Regions from separate parts of the Homo sapiens genome. Here all the other regions are linked to region 1. Evidence: promoter capture Hi-C in 16 types of primary human blood cells and fetal thymus (Javierre and others, 2016). All regions are on one chromosome and are shown on one strand. Each heading gives the region's core, a stretch centred on a gene start or on the middle of the fragment in contact. The rest is flanking DNA. Distances are from core to core; before and after follow the strand shown. Region 1 holds the start of GUF1 (GTP binding elongation factor GUF1). Region 2 overlaps NIPAL1 (NIPA like domain containing 1). Region 3 overlaps NFXL1 (nuclear transcription factor, X-box binding like 1). Region 4 overlaps NFXL1 (nuclear transcription factor, X-box binding like 1). Region 5 overlaps NFXL1 (nuclear transcription factor, X-box binding like 1). Region 6 overlaps NFXL1 (nuclear transcription factor, X-box binding like 1).

Region 1 (2,829 bases), core at 228-2,727:
TTAAAAATATTTTAAAATGGAACTCCTGGTTTTTCGTGTACACATCTTCTTTAACGTTTTACTGAAACACATCACAAATTGCTAGAAATTGTTATCAAGCAAAATATACCAGTTTTTTGTACTCTATTTTTTTCCAATCAACTGCATATTTCACAATCAGCAAAACCATGAAATTACAATGAAATATAAAATTCACGTGAGCTTTGTTTTTTAATAGCCCCATAAAGACAGATAATAAAAGCACAATTATAGCTGAAAGTCTGCCGAAAAAAAACTAATTCTGATGTTTGCCCTGTAGATTTTCTTTCCCTTCAGTTCAAAAGGTATAGAGAATTGCACCATCTTTATACTTCGAATTGCAATATAAATCCATTTTTAAAAACACAGGCATATTAGGGCCAAAGTTGATTAATTTAAGGTTTTGTCTTTCTGCCTACTTATAGCTTGCCTTCAGTCACTTCACTTTTCTGACTAAAATGTATCCATTCACAATTATCAGAGTTGTTGAACCTCCCACCCTCTCCCACCAGAGTCAAAATTACACAGGTTTGCTCTGGCTGAGGTAGAATGAAATAAAACTACAAAGACAGACCGAGAACTTCCTGCATTCTAGGTATTAGTCTAAAAAAGTCCACTTCTCACATCACACAAATCTCACAAATTAGCCACTGGATGTTTGATCAGTTCTGCATTCAACAAATGAAGTAGGAGAGTGACAATGTAGTAACTTGCCCAGGCCACATAGCTACTTAATTTGCAGGAAAATGGACGTTATATTAATATTTACTAGCAACTTGCTTAGTAGGCTTTTTAGAATTAAATAGATGAATAAACGCAAAGCACTTCGACCAGTGGCTCGCGTAAACAAATCAACATTTGACATTGAAAATGAGAAAACCTACAAAGTTAGTGACTTGCCCAAGGTCACACTAGTGAGGAGTGGAGGGTCGGGAACCTGAGCAGTGCTCACACTCTCCGCTCTGCCTCCCTGTACCAAGTTGCAAGCAGGGTTCAGAGCTAGTCCCAGAAAGCCCTATACATGTCCAAGATCGCATGGGGCACTCCAACGTTTGAAAACTTGGCTAAATCAGATTCCAGGGGGCAGTCACCTTGAATTCTGCGGAGCTGTAGAGCCTGTCGGTAGCCCAGGACTCTGGAGCAGCCCCAAGGGTCGGCGCGGACCGGGGCCCCGGGGCCACCAGAAGCGCGGCCCCAGTGGCTCGTGGCGCGAGAGCGCGTGCGCACCCCCAGCCCCGACCCACGAGGGTCCACATGACCCGGGCGGCGGAGGCGTCAGGAGAGGGTACCCACACGCAACAGCAGCATAGCCCGTTTTTTTTCGAAGGTACCCCCCGTAGGATCCGGTGGACAGGACTCAAACAGATCCTGTGAAGCGAAGACAATGAACCCCGGGGAGCTCTGCCCAAGTACCAGATCCGGAAGCAACCCGAAGCGGCGGCGCAGCTTGCCGACGTCTGCACGCCGCACGCTGTCGTGACATCAGCGCGTCTTGGCGCCGGGTAGTGGAGTGGTCACGTGAGTGGAGGCTTTCGATTGACTCCCTAAAACGCAGGGTGTAGACAGAGTACATATTAGCTTATATTGTCTGCTGAGTGCTGTGCCAATTCCTTTGCATTGTCTCTTTCTTACTACTGCCCTGTGGTGTGTGTACTGTCAGTTCCCCCAAACTACCTCTGGAAATCCGGACCGAGTGACTTGCCCAGGAGCTCACAGGTGGGGAGCTGTGGAGCCTGGAGTGCCGCCCAGGCAGTCTGATTCCCGAACCAGGAGCCGAGGTCTTAGTCCAGGGACTTAAAGATGCTATTATTAGCACAACGTTGAGACTTAGCCTTCTACCTAATGGCAAAATAATAATGGCACTTTTAAAATCTGGAGGTCGAAATGTATTCCCCATGTTGTCAGTGACAGAGCTAATCTTGAAGTGCATCTGAAAGGAAACGGGCCATAACATTGATTGCAATACTGAATCCAGGAAGGTTTTGGCAAGAAGTAAAGGTGGGAAAAAGTTCCATGCTGGACCCCCAATGTTTCCATCGTCATCAAGTTACCACTTCATGGAATGAGCTCTGACGAAGTAAGAATGGGGGATAAAACAGGTGATAGGAGGATTGCATCCAGTGTTTGTCTCCCACTATTTCTCTTGCGCTTTTCTGGAATATCCAGAATTTGGTGCGAAGGAGGGAGATGACAGCTGTGTTCAGTTCATCATTGTGACTGAAGACAGAATCATTCGTATTGTTTCCAGAGCCTTTGAAAGTTTCTTCATTTGGAGGATTTCTTAGGATCAAGAATTCTGTACCAGACTCAGTTCTTTCTTGGATTTTTTTTTCCCCCCTGAGATGGTGTCTCGCTCTGTCGCCCAGGCTGGAGTACAGTAGCGCTATCTCGGCTCACTGCAACCTCCGCCTCCTGGGCTCAAGCGATTCTCCTGCCTCAGTCTCCTGAGTAGCTGGGATTACAGGCGCGCGCCAGCAATCATGGCTAATTTTTGTATTTTTAGTAGAGACGGGGTTTCACCATGTTGGTCACGCTGATCTCGAACTCCTGACCTCGTGATCTGCCCACCTCGGCCTCCCAAAGTGTTGCGATTACAGGCGTGAGCCACCGCGCCTGGCCCTTTCTTGGAACTTTTATGAATTAAAACAGTACTTGATAGACGACTAATTCTGTCACACTTGTAAGAGAATGAATTTAACAACTATCTTGAAGTAAACACAATAATTTATATTCAATGTTGCCCAGACTTCCATAATTTGCACAATTACCCTCATTAATTTTCACCATATCCTGTCAAAGATAAAGGCAGAC
Region 2 (2,829 bases), core at 246-2,745, 3.3 Mb before region 1:
TACATACACACACCTTTAACATTTAAAAATGAAGATCTACTATCTATAATCATGGGCAAGTTGAGTAATGGCTCTTGGTTTCAGTTTCCGCATCTGTAAAATGAGGGACTTTGACTCAATGATTCTAAAGTTTGATCATAACCTATGTTTGTTCTCAGAATTACTTACAATACTGGTGCCTCATAAATGTTGCTGATGGACCAGTTCTAAACTCATAGGCACTGATAGAGGAGAGATATTTTAAAGAAACTGATGCCAATATATTAAGTGACACTGGCCAAAGTTATGTAACTGCTAAAACCAGGGCCAAGTAACCCAATTCCCAGCCAGCATTCTATTTCAGAAAAATAAAAACATAAAGTACAAGAAAAAGCCAGTTGAAATTTATTATTCATGTTTATATAAGGATGAAATGCTTTAAATAATTTGTCAAATATTTGCCTATAGAGAATAATAATATAAATTTAAATAATAATTTAAATTATCCAGTTTATTACATGGAATAGAAATCTGGTTTTAAGAAAGTCAATAATTGTATAAAACTACCTTTTTAATCACCGCAAGATATTTCCAGTTGGGGGTCTCACCATCTATTCTACTGTGATAGTTTGGATTATTATTCATTCAGTATTCAGCCCCTTACCTTTCCCAATGTGGGCAAAGGTGCTTCACCTGATGTTGGGCTGGAAGTAAGTTGGTGGCCAATGGGAAGTCAGCAGAAGTGATATGAAGCTAGATTTCAAAGATGCTTATGTGGTTGGGTTTACTCATTTGCATCTCTGTAATTCCCTGAGGAGCTGCTGTCCCTTCAGCCTCTGCACCCAAATGAAGACACATGGAGCAGATCTGAGCTCATCCCACATGAAGGAGCCAAACCCAGGTGGACATTAGCCTGAAGCAGAGACATATAGGTGAGCCCCATCTAGATCAGTCAACCTTCAGCTGACCTAGAAACCTAAGCAAGAATATGTGATATACCTGCCTATTCATATTAGCATGGGAATGACTGAATGAAATCTCTTTATATCTGTTACAATTTATTCTCCAAACGCTAACCAGTGGGAAGTAGGTTATATCACTCCCTGGCTTAATACTCCCTGTCCCCTGTCATGGTTTTTCATCTCAACTTACAACAAAATCTCAACTCCTCACTAACTTTGAACTTTAAAGCTTCTCATGCTCTGAAACTGGCTCGTCTCTGACATCATATTGCATTACTCTCCCTCTCACCCCTCTCTGAAACACTAATCTTCTTTTCCTTCATTCAACAAATATGTATGGTGTACTACCTGTTGGGCATTTTCTAGAATCTGGAGATAGAAAAATGAATACAACAATGGTCCCGCTCTCTTATATTCCAGTGGGGGCAGATAGGATTAACAAACAAATAACTATACGTATGTTAAGAGTGCCATAGCAAGTAGTAAAAGCAGCATCAAGGAATATATTTTTTAAAACAGGATTAAACAAAAGAGCCTCTCTGCTAAGTCTAAAAGCAGAAACCCTGAGGGGTTGAAGAAACTGCAGTCAGCCAGGTTGCCTGGGGTGACAGAAAGGGAGATGGTATGAGATGTGGCTAAAGAGTAGGTGGGAGAAGGATCAGGTGAAATGAACCTTTAGACAAGTAGGTCTGATCTTGTCATTCCTCCTTCCAAAACTCCACAAGGGCTTCCCTTCTCATTCCGAAAAAAATCCAAAATTCCCACTATAGCCTATAAGGCCCTGTGGAATCCTGTCTCCAGCTGCCTAACCTCATTCCCTACTATTGCCTTTTCTTCTGTTCCTTTCATAGAATAAGTTCCTTCTCACCTTAAGCTTTTTAAAAAGCAGCTGTTCCTGAGCCTGTTACAGAGTGCTGGCTGGCATAGCTAGCTTCTTCTGAGTGAGAGGACTAAGCAACTCAGAGAGGCCTTTCCTGCCTTCCCAATCTAAAGGAACCTCTCAGTCACTTTCCATCATATGTTCCCAATCAAATAGACTTCCTCATATGGCTTAATTACAGCTTTATAACAACCTTCATACATATTTGCATTTGTTTCTTTTAAAGATAATTTTGGATTAGAGACTCTTTTGAAGCATCTATAGCTTTAAAAGTCAAAACCAATGTGGGGTGGGGGATGGCTCATGCCTGTAAACCCAGCACTTTGGGATGCCAAGGTAGGAGTATCACTTGAAGTCAGGAGTTCAAGACCAGCCTGGTCAACACAGTGAAACCCGTATTAAAAATACAAAAATTAGCTGGGCATGGTGGCATGTGCCTGTATTCCCAGCTACTTGAGAGGCTGAGGCAGGAGAATTGCTTGAACCCAGGTGGAAGTTGCAGTGAGCTGAAATTGCACCACTGCATGCCATCCTGGGTGACGGAGTGGCACTCCGCCTCAAAAAAACAAAAAAAAGTCAAAACCAAAGTATGAAATTAACTTTTTCTTCATGGAAGTTCAACTGGAATGTTCTATCTTCAGATCTCATGACTGACCCCTTGTCATTTGGGTCTCAGCTTGAATATCACTTTCGTAAGGGGCTTTCATTGAATACCCAATCTAAACATCCCAACACTCTTGATACATTACTGCTATTATAATGATCTTTTAAATTACTTTGTTTCTTGCATAGTAGCTGCCATCTGAACAGTAAGGTGCCTGAGAGCAGGAACCTAGTCCTAGAGTCTGGGACCAGACTGTCTTGCAGATCCCTCTATCCCAGCACCTATGCCAGTGCTTGGCACATGGGACTCTTGTTATTTGAATGAACAAGTGAAAAATTGAGTCTTTGTTTACTCCATGTCAAGCTCTGAGTGGTGTAGTTCATATGTAATCCCACCTGCACCTA
Region 3 (2,829 bases), core at 158-2,657, 3.2 Mb before region 1:
GAGCACTGTATGTTATAGAGTTGAATTTTTGTACACTTTGGTATTTGAGTTATATATTGTGTAACACTAATTTTTCTATAAAGCAAATAGAATGGCAGTGGCTCTTTTATAGCCTTAGGAGGCCTTTGTGTGTATTTAATTGGCATTTCAGTAGAATGCTTGGATGGGGCTGCTAAAGCTCCTGAGCGGTGGACTGGGGCAAGTTTTTTCTGGTTGTGATGATTTGATTGAACTAGAGTACTTTGTGTACTCCTTTCAATCTATTCATTTTTTTTCATCATGTTAAATGCGTCTTGAAGTCTTTTTAATTCTTTATTTCCTTATTTTATATCTTATTTACAACATCTGATTTTCATGTATTTATTTTTAGAGTTGGGGTCTTGTTCTGTTGCCCAGGCTGGAGCGCAGTGGTACGTAGTGGTGCGTAGTTCACTGCAGTCTTCAACTCCTGGGCTTAAGTGATCCTCCTGCCTCAGCTTCCTGAGTAGCTGAGACTACAGGCATGTGCACTGCACCTAGCCGTACTTTTTTTAAAAAACCTAAATTTCCTCAGGTTTGACATGTACATTCGTGTTATCTGTGGTTTATATCTGATTGCTCTTAAAGCCACGTTTGTTTATGTGAGAGAGGGCCAAAGTGATGTTGCTGTGTACCACTTTAGTATTAAGTGTAAAAATAGATTATTTTAAATGTAAATATTATTAAACTTTCTGCCTTTTATACTTTAAAATTATTATTAGAAATATTCTTGTATGTAGGCCAGGCATAGTGGCTCACGCCTATAACCCCAGCACTTTGGGAGGCCGAGGCCGGGGGATCACTTGAGGTCAGGAGTTTGAGACCAGCCTGGCCAACATGGTGAAACCCCGTCTCTACTAAAAATACAAAAAAATTAGCTGGGCATGGTGGCACACACCTGTAATCCCAGCTACTCAGGAGGCTGAGGCAGGAGAATTGCTTGAACTTGGGAGGTGAAGGTTGCCGTGAGCTGAGATTGCGCCACTGCACTCCAGCCTGGGAGACAGAGCAAGACTCCGTCTCAATTAAAAAAAAAAAAAGAAAGAAAGAAATATTTTTGCATGTAATGTCAACATTTATTAATATATTTGTAGATATGTCATATTGTTTATATACCTTTTATTAGTAATATATATTTATGCCCTTGCTTGGTTCTTTTTCTTACTTTAGTATACTGTTAAAACCAGGAAAAACCTTACAAATATTTTGGGAAACAATTCTACAGAGGAGAGGTGACTTTCCTAGAGTTAGACAATTAGTAATTGGCAGAGCTGGGTTTAAACCTAGTTGACTTAGCTTTAGAGCCATTACTGGGCTGATTTCATTTTCTCTGTAAAAGCAGGAAAATTCTGAGGAGACTAGACGGTTACTTTTGTACCTGTTTATGGGGAAAAAGCAGCATTGTACAGCAGTTAAGAACATTGACACTTGAATCAGATTGCTACGGTTTGATTCTTGGCTTTGTTACTTGGCTGTAGGATGTTTGACATATTGCTTAGCATCTTAGGGGCTTAGTTTCTTTTGTAAAATGGGTATAATGATACTAAATACTGTAGAGTTGTTAGGATGAAATGAATCAGTATGTGTAAGTACTGTAGTGCTTACAGTAGTGCCTGTTGTGTAGTCTGTGCTGTATATCTGTTTGCTGGAATGTTTAATGTATTTTGTGGCTTGATTATTAGAGATTTTCTATCGTAACTGCTGCTTTCTTTTAAAAAATTTGTTTCTTTTTTTTTTTTTTTTTTGCGACGGAGTCTCACTCTGTCGCCCAGGCTGGAGTGCAGTGGCGCAATCTCAGCTCACTGCAAGCTCCACCACCCGGGTTCATGCCAATCTCCTGCCTCAGCCTCCCGAGTAGCTGGGACTACAGGTGCCCGCCACCATGCCCGGGTAATTTTTTGTGTTTTTAGTAGAGACGGGGTTTTACTGTGTTAGCCAGGATGGTCTTGATCTCCTGACCTCGTGATCCGCCCGCCTCGGCCTCCCAAAGTGCTGGGATTACAGGCGTGAGCCATTGCGCCAGGCCAAAAATTTGTTTCTTTTTTCAGTCATGTCTTCCCTTGATCATAAGGCCCCACATCCTAAGCTCTCTCCATCTACACTATACTAATGTGTTCCTTAGTTATTATCTTGTGCTTTCATGAGAAGTATAAGGCCAGTGATGCCAGGATTCAGGCCTGTTAGTTAGTATGACAGAATCAGAAGCATAGCAGAGTTTGAGCATTAGTTAGCATAAACGCAAATAAAGAGCATGAGAGTTAGTCTTTTTTTTTTTTTGGAGACAGTCTTCTTCTATTGCCCAGGCTGGAGTGCAGTGATGTGATCATAGCTCCCTACAATCTTGAACTACTGAGCTCAAGTGACCCTCCTGCTTTAGCCTCCCAAGTAGCTGGTACTGCAAGCACACACCACCATGCCTGGTTAATTTTTTTAGAATTTTTTTGTAGAGACAGTGTTTTCCTGTGTTGTCAAGGCTGGTCTTGAATTCCTGGCTACAGAGAATTCTCCCACCTCAGCTTCCCAAAGTGGCAGGCGTGAGCCACTGTGCCTGGCTGAGAGTTAATCAAGTCTTCAGACAGAAGGATCGATGTATTTCACCTTTCCCTTCCCAACACATAACCTTGGTGATTAGATAGTTGCCTGAGTATATTGATAGGATCATGAAGATAGTTGTACATCATCAAGTAGGTTTCTAAGGAATTTACCATATCTGCTAAGGAATTAAGATTAGGAAGTTTGGCTGAGAAGTCTAGGTTGGCAAGGTAAGAATTGATAAAAAGTAACTCTAAGGTTAGAGGGTTTCTTGTTTCT
Region 4 (2,829 bases), core at 115-2,614, 3.2 Mb before region 1:
AGAGTTCTAGTTTGGCAGTTTTTAACCCCCATACTTAAAAGGTATTGCTCTACTATCTTTTAGCTTGCATTTTTTCCAATAAGTAGTATGCTGTGATTGTTGTATCTGTTCCTCTGTACTGATTGTTTCTCTTTTTTTCTGTCTGGTTATTAAGATCTTTCTCTTTATCACCAGTTTACAGCAGTTTGTTTCTGGTGTTCCTTGGTATGGTGTTCTTTATGTTTCTTAACCTAGTTTTCATCGAGCTGCTTAGATCTGTAGGTTTATAGTTTTTATTATATTTGTGAAATTTTTGTTTTTTATTTCTTCAGATTTTTTTTTCTGTTTTCCCCTACCCGTCACCTTCTGAGACTTTAAGGACATGTATGTTATATGCTGCTTGAATTTCCAAGTTCACTGATACTATTTATTTTTCAGTCTGTTTCTGTTTTAGTTTATATAGTTTTGTCTTCAACATTGCTAATTTTCTTCTGCATTGTCTAATCTGCTTTTTATCCCATCCTGTGTTTTTCATCTGAGAAGTTGTGTATTTTCATCTCTAGAAGTTGGATTTGGGTCTTTTTTATATCTTCCGTGTTTCTCCTTAGCATGTTCATGCTTCCTCTATCTACTTGAATGTGAGATAGGCTATATTTGTAATGTCTGTTTTAATATCCCTGTGTACTAATTCTGTCATCTCTCATTTCTGAGTCTGTTTCTGTTTATTGACTTTTCTGCTTTTTTGGGGTTATGTTTTCCTGCTTCTTTGTCTGCTAGATGATTTTTGATTGTTACTAGACATGAACTTTACATTTTTGGGTGCTGGTTCTTTTTGTTTGTTTATTTGTATTTCTTTAAATATTTTTAAGCCTTATTCTGGGGCAAAGTTAAGTTACTCAAAAACTGTTTGTTCTTTCAGAGGCTTGATATTTTTAAGTGTGACCGGAACACTCTTTTGTTTAGGGCTAATTTGGCCCCATTACTGAGGCAGTAAGTCTTCTAAGTACTCTACTTGATGCCCAGGTATTAGAAGGTCCTTCTATTCTGGCTGTAAGGAACACAGACTTTTTCCCAGCCTTGTGTGATCTCTTGAAATTATTCTGCCTTCTCCTTCCAGTGGTTCTTTCTCAGCTTTTGGATTGTTTCCTCTCACACACATACAGACCAGTACTCAGCCAAAGACCCAAGAAGTTCTTTCTGGAGTTCTTCAGAGCTTTTTCTGTACTGCTGCCTTCTCTGCACAAATTCTAGCCACACTGGCCTCTCTGAACTACGAATTTTGCCTACTCAACTTTATGAGACAGCCAGATTCTGCTTATGATCTTCCTCCTTGTGCTATAGCCAGAAGTCTTCATGTGTAAGCTGATAGCATTGCAAGACTTACCTAGTTTGTTTCCCTTCTGTTAGGGACTGCCATCTGTGCTGCCTCATTATCTAATACCTGAAAACTGTAGCTTCATATCTTTTATGTGGTTTTCTAGTGGTTTGAGACAGGAGTGTAAATCTGGTTGTTGTTACTCCATCATAACTCAAAACAGAAGTGTCTATTGGCTTATTCAAGTCATGGACCACATAATCTTTTCCCCCACTGGCAAAGTGATAGGATAGGCACATAGTATTACTCAATAAACACTTGTCTAATTGAATAAACTATATTGCCTCTTTTTTTTTTTTTGAGACGGAGTCTTACTCTATCGTCCAGGCTGGAGTGCAGTGGTGTGATCTCGGCTCACTGCAACCTCTGCCTCCCATGTTCAAGCAATTCTCCTGCCTCAGCCTCCGCAAGTAGCTGGGACTACAGGCACGCACTACCATGCCTGGCTAATTTTTGAGAATAAACTGTATTGACTTAATTGCTTTTTAATAATGTACATTTTGTTTTTAGCTATTTTTATATAATGAAACTTACTCTTATATACAACCCTAAGTTTCTTTAAGACAATTGTAGTCTGTATTTCCTTTCCAAAGTTAGGTAAGTAAGAAGTTAAGGAAAGAGTTAAGATGGCAATATAGACTTGAAGTAGTTGACTGGTGTCCATGATTGAAAAATTAGGACAGGTCATAGATAGCTATATTTCTCACAGACACGGAAGTGTCTGTGAAACCAGGGAAGTGACAAAGAAAGCTGGATGCAAGTAGCCTATCTCTGCTTCTCTTCTTTAATCTCTTAATCTATGGTTTGAAAATAACTGCCAAACGAAGCCAGGAGCAGTGGCTTATGTCTATAATCCAAGTACTTTGGGAGGCCAAGGCAGGCAGATCGCTTGAGCTCAGGAGTTTGAGAGCAGCCTGGGCAACATGGCAAAACTCCATCTCTACCAAAAATACACAAACTACTGAGGTGTGGTGGGGAGAGCATGTAGAACTAGGTACTCAGAAGGCTGAGGTGTGAGGATGGCTTGAGCCTGGGAGGTGGAGGTTGCAGTCAGTCAAGACTGTGCCATTACACTCTAACCTGAGACAGAGCCAGACTCTGTCTCAAGAAAAAAAAAAAAAAGAAAAAAAGAAAAAGAAAATAAATAACTGCCAAATGAATCTATACGTTGAATTTGATTTTAATTAAATTTTTTTTAAAAACCAGACTAATTGTTTTCCTGAATTGACATTCCTTTGGTTAATGTTGTTAGTCTCTGCATAGATAAAGGAATGAAATTATCTGATGGAAATGTTTTGAATCATAGAATAATTAACTGAAAGTCAGGAAAATTTAGCTTGATTTGTTAAATTAGGTCATCATAAGTTCTTAGTGAAGTATGTTTACTTACCAGAAGAATGTTGATATTCTTGAATACTTCTTTTAGTGAAAAGTGTATCTTTTGCTTTCCATAAGTTCTGTAACTAGTAATGACA
Region 5 (2,829 bases), core at 225-2,724, 3.2 Mb before region 1:
GGTTCAAGGAGTAATTTCAACTTTCAGGTCTAATTTTTTGAGAAATAAATGCCAGATGTAGGTGGTGATTTCTCTGATAGATCTGGGTAAATTGAAAACGTTCTGGAAAGGAGTCACCATTCTAGATGTCATTAAGAACATTCATGTCAACAGGAACAGGAGTTTGGAAGAAGTTGATTCCAGCCCTAATAGATGACTTTGAGGGGTTCAAGACTTCAGTGCAGAAAGTAACTGCAGATGTGGTGGAAATAGCAAGAGGACTATAATTAAAAGTGGAGCCTATAGATGGGACTGAATTGTTGCAATCTCATGATAAAACTTGAACAGATGAGAAGTTGCTTCTAATGGATGAACAAAGAAAGTGGAATCTATTCCTGGTGAAGATACTGTGAACATTGCTGAAATGACAGCAAAGGATTAGGATTTAGAATATTACCCAAACTTAGTTGATAAAGCAGCAGCAGGTTTGATAGGAATTTTGAAAGAAGTTCTACTGTGGGTAAAATGCTATGAAACACAGCATCACATGCTACAGAGAAATCTTCCTGAAAGGAAGAGTCAATTGATGCAGCAAACTCTATTGTCTTATTTTTTTTAATTGCCATAGCCACCTCAATCTTCAGCAGCCACCACCCTGATCAGTCAGCAGCCATAAACATCTAGGCAAGATGCTCCATCTGTGAAAACATTAAGACTGACTGAAGGCTCAGATGAGTGTTAGCAGGTTTTAGTAATAAAGTATTGTTAAGGTATACACATTGTTTTTTATGATGTAATGCTATTGCATACTTAGTATATTGCAGTATTGTGTAAACATAACTTTTATATGCACTGGGAAGCCAAAAAATGTGTGTGACTTGCTTTAGTATGATATTCGCTATATTAAGGTGGTCTGGAACTGAACCTGCAATATCTCTGAGCTATGCCAGTAGTTGACTTAGGCATAATTTTTTTTTTCTTTTTTTTTTTTTTTTGAGACAGAGTCTCGCTCTGTTGCCCAGGCTGGAGTGCAGTGGCACGATCTTGGCTCACTGCAATCTCTGCCTCCTGGGTTCAAGCAATTCTCCTGCCTTGGCCTCCTGAGTAGCTGGGATTACAGGCACGTGCCACCACACCCATCTAATTTTTGTATTTTTAGTAGAGATGGGGTTTCACCATGTTGGTCAGGCTGGTCTCAAACTCCTGACCTCGTGATCCACCCACCTTGGCCTCCCAAAGTGTTGGGATTACAGGGGTGAGCCACCATGCCCAGCCTACTTAAGCATAATTTTTAAGTTATAGATTTAAAAGGTAGGCCTTTATTACAAGCGTTGCTGTTATAGCACCTATCACACTAGGATATGACCAAACCAGTATGTTTTCTTCATTTAAAAAAATGCCAGTTTTTGCTTATGGATTATTTAGATAGAAGAAAAAAATTTCCCTTTTATTTAATAATGATATAACATAATTTACCACTTAACTCTCCTGGCTGTTTCACTCCAGTCCGTAAAGTGAGCTTTTTGTAAATATATTTTCCTCAAGTTTCATTTGGGAATATTACTTTATTTCATATTTTTTAGCATAATTACATTTTGAAAAATTCCTGTTCATATTAGCTAACATTTTTGTTCCCTAAACTCTAGACTCATGCTTTGTTAAATTATAGAAGACAAATTTTATTCTTTTCTTATATTAAAGTTATTTTGTTGAAATCTCAAAAATAAAGTATTATAATTTTTAGTCTTAGAAGTTTTGTAGGGGGAATTTAGAGGGCAATTTTACATTATTAATGGATAGTAATGAACTTGGGCAGTGTCACACCTGCATTCTGTTTATTTATATAGCTTGTTCCTCATCAAACTTTCACCCACGAATTTTAGCATCCATTGATGATTCTGTTGTAAATGAGTTGTTACTACGATAACATTTGAGAAAATAGAAAAAGCTCTCAAGAACAACACACGTGCATGTGTGCCCAGATGCTTCATTAATGAAACCCTTGACCATTTAATCCCAGTGATACTACATAAAGTATTCTAGAGCATAGAAACCCATGGAAATAACCAAGTGTTTTTTTGTTTTGTTTTTGTTTTTTTTTTTTTTGAGACGGAGTCTCGCTCTGTCACCCAGGCTGGAGTGCAGTGGCATAATCTGCTCACTGCAAGCTCCGCCTCCCAGGTTCACGCCATTCTCCTGCCTCAGCCTCCCGCGTAGCTGGGACTACAGGCGCCTGCCACCACGCCCAGCTAATTTTTTGTATTTTTTTTAGTAGAGACAGGGTTTCACCATGTTAGCCAGGATGGTCTTGATCTCCTGACCTCGTGATCTGCCCGCCTCGGCCTCCCAAAGAACCAAGTGTATTTTACAAAACAAATAAAAACTTGCCAAGTGGGAATTTTCTAACTCCATCTTCTACATTTATTAATTGACATTTTACTGTAAGAGCTCTCCCAACCTCGTATGTTAATACTGGCATGAACCAGTGGATTCTTTATTTGGTCCTTCGCCATCATTTTGATGTTTAATTTATTGAACATCAAAGGCCCATGGGAGTGTCTTTAAACTGGTTCTCATGTCCCTTTGATGTGTTTCCATCTTTGTTTTAGTATTTTCTTTTTTTTTCTGGCTAATAAAAATGGCCCAGGCTCATCTTGTACTTTACATATCCTAGCCCAGGACTTAGACATTTCTCTAAGGGCCTTTTTAATGGGCAGTGATATTTAAAAGCCACTTGGTGTGCTTTTTGCTCCTTGTGTTTCATTGCTTCTAGGCTCTCTGTTTTAATGAGGACCATTTTAAAATTTATTTTAGTGAATTGGCTGTTGACGTCCTTTGCATATTTTTTTT
Region 6 (2,829 bases), core at 111-2,610, 3.2 Mb before region 1:
TTTAAAAATTTTATGGTATTCTCTTTTTTAAGTTAAGAGAAAATAAGCAAGTAATCACTATTTGAAGCAGATATTTAATGCTTGCAACTATATCATCATTAAATATTAAGACATCAAATAATACTTATAACCTTAAGCTATCAGATGAACTTTGCTTTTTTATGGCAGACAGGTCTTTGAGGGAAAAATCATTTAAAATTTGAAAATCGGGTTGTTTGTAGGAATTGCAGTGCAACAAAGTACGTGAAAATCAGGTTTCAATAGAATGTGACACAACGTGCAAGGAAATGAAGCGGAAAGCATCTGAGGTAATGTCTCGTTAAATATCATTTTAAAGACTAGTGGCCTTTCCCTTCTTATTTTGTGCATTTATGTACTTATTAAAAACAACTTGAAATCTCATTTTTTTGCTTTTATAATAAAAGCCTAGTTTTATAGGCTTATTTTGAATGGCAGATTGGGATTTTCATTGCCTAGTGTATATGAAGGCTTTTCATCTTCTATGCCCGTTATAAGATTTTGAGATTCTTTGCTGCTTGGGTTATCTCTAGTGTTACTCTTCCCCTCCATCAACCCAATCAGTGACCTCTTGATTTTGTTTGAAAGTAAGGATTCCCTTCCATGATAGCACATTTAAGATAAATTTAACTCTAGAGAAACAGCAGTATTTAATAATTAATTCTAGATTCTTAATACAGCAACTCAAGAGGAAAAAAGGCAGTTTTAAAATTTGCTGTTACAGTGTTTTAACTCTTTGAATTACGATGTAATACCGATTTTACTTGTTAAGCTGAGATGCTCATATAAGGTATAACACTCCATCCATGACCACCTTCAATTTATTAGATAGTGCCTTGGTAAAACCTTGTCTCAGTATAGCATTTACATTTCTTTAAATGATTTCAAGCTCCTAAAAGTTGATATGGGTTAATAGAACCTGGATGGGTAGATGTTAAAATTCCATATAAAATGTGATGACTAAATTGTAAATTGACTTTTGTATGTGTATAAACAGATAAAAGAAGCAGAAGCCAAAGCTGCTCTTGAAGAAGAAAAACGAAGACAACAGGTAACCAAACAAAATACCCAGATTTATGTCTCTTAGCATCATTGCTAGATTTTGTGCAAACACGGGGTATATTCCAAGGTCAAACTAAGGTCTAGTCTCTATTGTGAACTGAAAATAACAGTTCTTGTAAAACAAAAATGAGCCATCTACTAACTTGACTTTAAGTATACTGAAACTCTGAAAAGGTATGAGATCTCATATATTCCCAAATTTTTTTTTTGTATTTCCAATTTACTTTCTTGCCAATATCATCCATACTTCAGCCAGAAGAATTTTAATTCCTCCTTTGGCTGGGGAGTGAGAGTGAGCGAATCATCACCATTGTAAGGCATCTTCTGGAGACCATGACTTTACTTAACTAAAAGTATTTGAGTTCTATTTTACTGAGTTGCAGACCACCTATAACAAATAAGTGCAGTTTACTAATCAGTACATTTGTTTTAATAATATATTCCCATATTTCCCTATTAGATCTTTAAATGCGGGATTATAACCTGTTCTTTGTTGTTACCTAGAGAACAAGTACATTCCTGATACTCCCTGTTTAAGTATTTACTTTATTGATCATACACTTGAAAGAGTGGCTTGACTTTCTAATAGTGATGTATAACTTTTTATTATTATTTGTCAGTTTGTATCTTGAAATGCTTTATACTTATCAGATTGTATTGTGTGCTAAGCTACTGCCTTTATGAATGATGAGATTGAAACTTGCGTGATTTGCATGAATAAGGAAATTCAAACTTTGATGAGTTGTAGGAACAATTAGAACAATTAGGAACATTAGAAACAATTCATGTAGTAAATAATGGTTGGCCAAGGTGACCTTTGAGATTTTATGGTTCTGTAAAGTTGATTTGCCTGATATCCCCAAAATAAGTTATCAGAGCTAAATAGTAAAACATAAGTTGGCTGGAATCCTAGGAGATTAAGTTATTAAGAATAGTTTAGTATGTTTTCTCCTTATTCCCTTTGCTATCTTTTTATAAATCATCATGGATGAAAATCTTAGATACATTCCCTGTTTACTGACTCTTTAAACAGAATATAATCAGTCCTTAGTATATGTAGGTTCTGCATCTGTGAATTCAACCAACCACAGATCGAAAATTTGTTTCAAAACAAGTAAAAAAAAAAAAAAATAAATAATACGCATTTTAAAATACAGTGTAACACCTATTTACATAGCATTTACATTGTTATTAGGTGTTATAGGAAATCTAGAGTGATTTAAAGTATACAAGAAGATGTTTGTGTGTTATTTGCAAATCCTCCACTATTTATGTAGAGACTTGATCATCCTCAGGTTTTTATATCCAAGGGGATCCTAGAACCAATTTCCTACAGATACTGAGGGATCACTGTATACAGCACATAATATATACTTGGTGACTGTGAGTCACCATTTAACTGTCAGTTATTTTACTGTGTCTGTAGTCCTCAAGTTTGCCTGCTTTTAAGATATTTTGACGTTTTTTATATGTCAGAAACTAACCACTTGGGAGTAGTCTGACATTTTGGCTCATTGAAGAATGCCACTTTGTATTAAACTAAGTTTATTATTAGATCTTTTTCAAGTGTGGTTTATGACCACAGTAATGGATATGTGAACTAAAGTTTACATTTCCTCCTATTAAATAACCATTTACAAAGTTTTAGGTGGATATTATTAAATACATATATATTTTAACTATTGTCTTAATTACCTATGCACTATAGCATATTATATTACATTATTATGTGTAAAAGTTTAATAAGTA

What was found. Contacts are between HindIII fragments. The CHiCAGO score rates a contact against its expected background, and 5 or more counts as called.
Region 2: a contact is called between a fragment that was not itself captured here and the fragment with the promoter of GUF1 in region 1, in 3 of 17 cell types (total CD4 T cells, total B cells and activated CD4 T cells). The highest score is 6.8, in total CD4 T cells.
Region 3: a contact is called between a fragment that was not itself captured here and the fragment with the promoter of GUF1 in region 1, in 8 of 17 cell types (total CD4 T cells, total B cells, non-activated CD4 T cells and 5 more). The highest score is 13.2, in total CD4 T cells.
Region 4: a contact is called between a fragment that was not itself captured here and the fragment with the promoter of GUF1 in region 1, in 3 of 17 cell types (naive CD8 T cells, total CD4 T cells and naive CD4 T cells). The highest score is 7.8, in naive CD8 T cells.
Region 5: a fragment that was not itself captured here is called in contact with the fragment with the promoter of GUF1 in region 1 in 1 of 17 cell types (naive CD8 T cells); the score reaches 7.7 in naive CD8 T cells.
Region 6: a fragment that was not itself captured here is called in contact with the fragment with the promoter of GUF1 in region 1 in 1 of 17 cell types (activated CD4 T cells); the score reaches 5.4 in activated CD4 T cells.

What each region holds. Positions count from the first base shown.
Region 1 is chr4:44,677,068-44,679,896 of GRCh38, reverse strand. It overlaps GUF1 (GTP binding elongation factor GUF1), which reads right to left and starts at 1,477. Exons shown (of 17, transcript NM_021927.3): 1 at 1,110-1,477. The coding sequence starts at 1,274. RefSeq lists a silencer at 1,139-1,298 and an enhancer at 1,370-2,258. The HindIII fragment of the contact is 9,672 bases long and covers 1-2,829 here.
Region 2 is chr4:48,018,590-48,021,418 of GRCh38, reverse strand. The region is part of intron 1 of NIPAL1 (NIPA like domain containing 1); the gene reads right to left. Among named protein-coding and RNA genes, the nearest start is that of NIPAL1, 3.2 kb to the right of the region's middle. The HindIII fragment of the contact is 645 bases long and covers 1,173-1,817 here.
Region 3 is chr4:47,907,889-47,910,717 of GRCh38, reverse strand. All of the region lies in intron 3 of NFXL1 (nuclear transcription factor, X-box binding like 1), which reads left to right. Among named protein-coding and RNA genes, the nearest start is that of NFXL1, 5.3 kb to the left of the region's middle. The HindIII fragment of the contact is 5,714 bases long and covers 1-2,829 here.
Region 4 is chr4:47,890,762-47,893,590 of GRCh38, reverse strand. All of the region lies in intron 11 of NFXL1 (nuclear transcription factor, X-box binding like 1), which reads left to right. The region is part of intron 2 of LOC101927179 (a long non-coding RNA gene); the gene reads right to left. Among named protein-coding and RNA genes, the nearest start is that of NFXL1, 22 kb to the left of the region's middle. The HindIII fragment of the contact is 3,608 bases long and covers 1-2,829 here.
Region 5 is chr4:47,870,607-47,873,435 of GRCh38, reverse strand. All of the region lies in intron 18 of NFXL1 (nuclear transcription factor, X-box binding like 1), which reads left to right. The region is part of intron 1 of LOC101927179 (a long non-coding RNA gene); the gene reads right to left. Among named protein-coding and RNA genes, the nearest start is that of CORIN, 34 kb to the right of the region's middle. The HindIII fragment of the contact is 4,683 bases long and covers 1-2,829 here.
Region 6 is chr4:47,849,335-47,852,163 of GRCh38, reverse strand. It overlaps NFXL1 (nuclear transcription factor, X-box binding like 1), which reads left to right. Exons shown (of 23, transcript NM_001278624.2): 21 at 222-308; 22 at 1,016-1,069. All of the region lies in intron 1 of LOC101927179 (a long non-coding RNA gene), which reads right to left. Among named protein-coding and RNA genes, the nearest start is that of CORIN, 13 kb to the right of the region's middle. The HindIII fragment of the contact is 3,566 bases long and covers 1-2,829 here.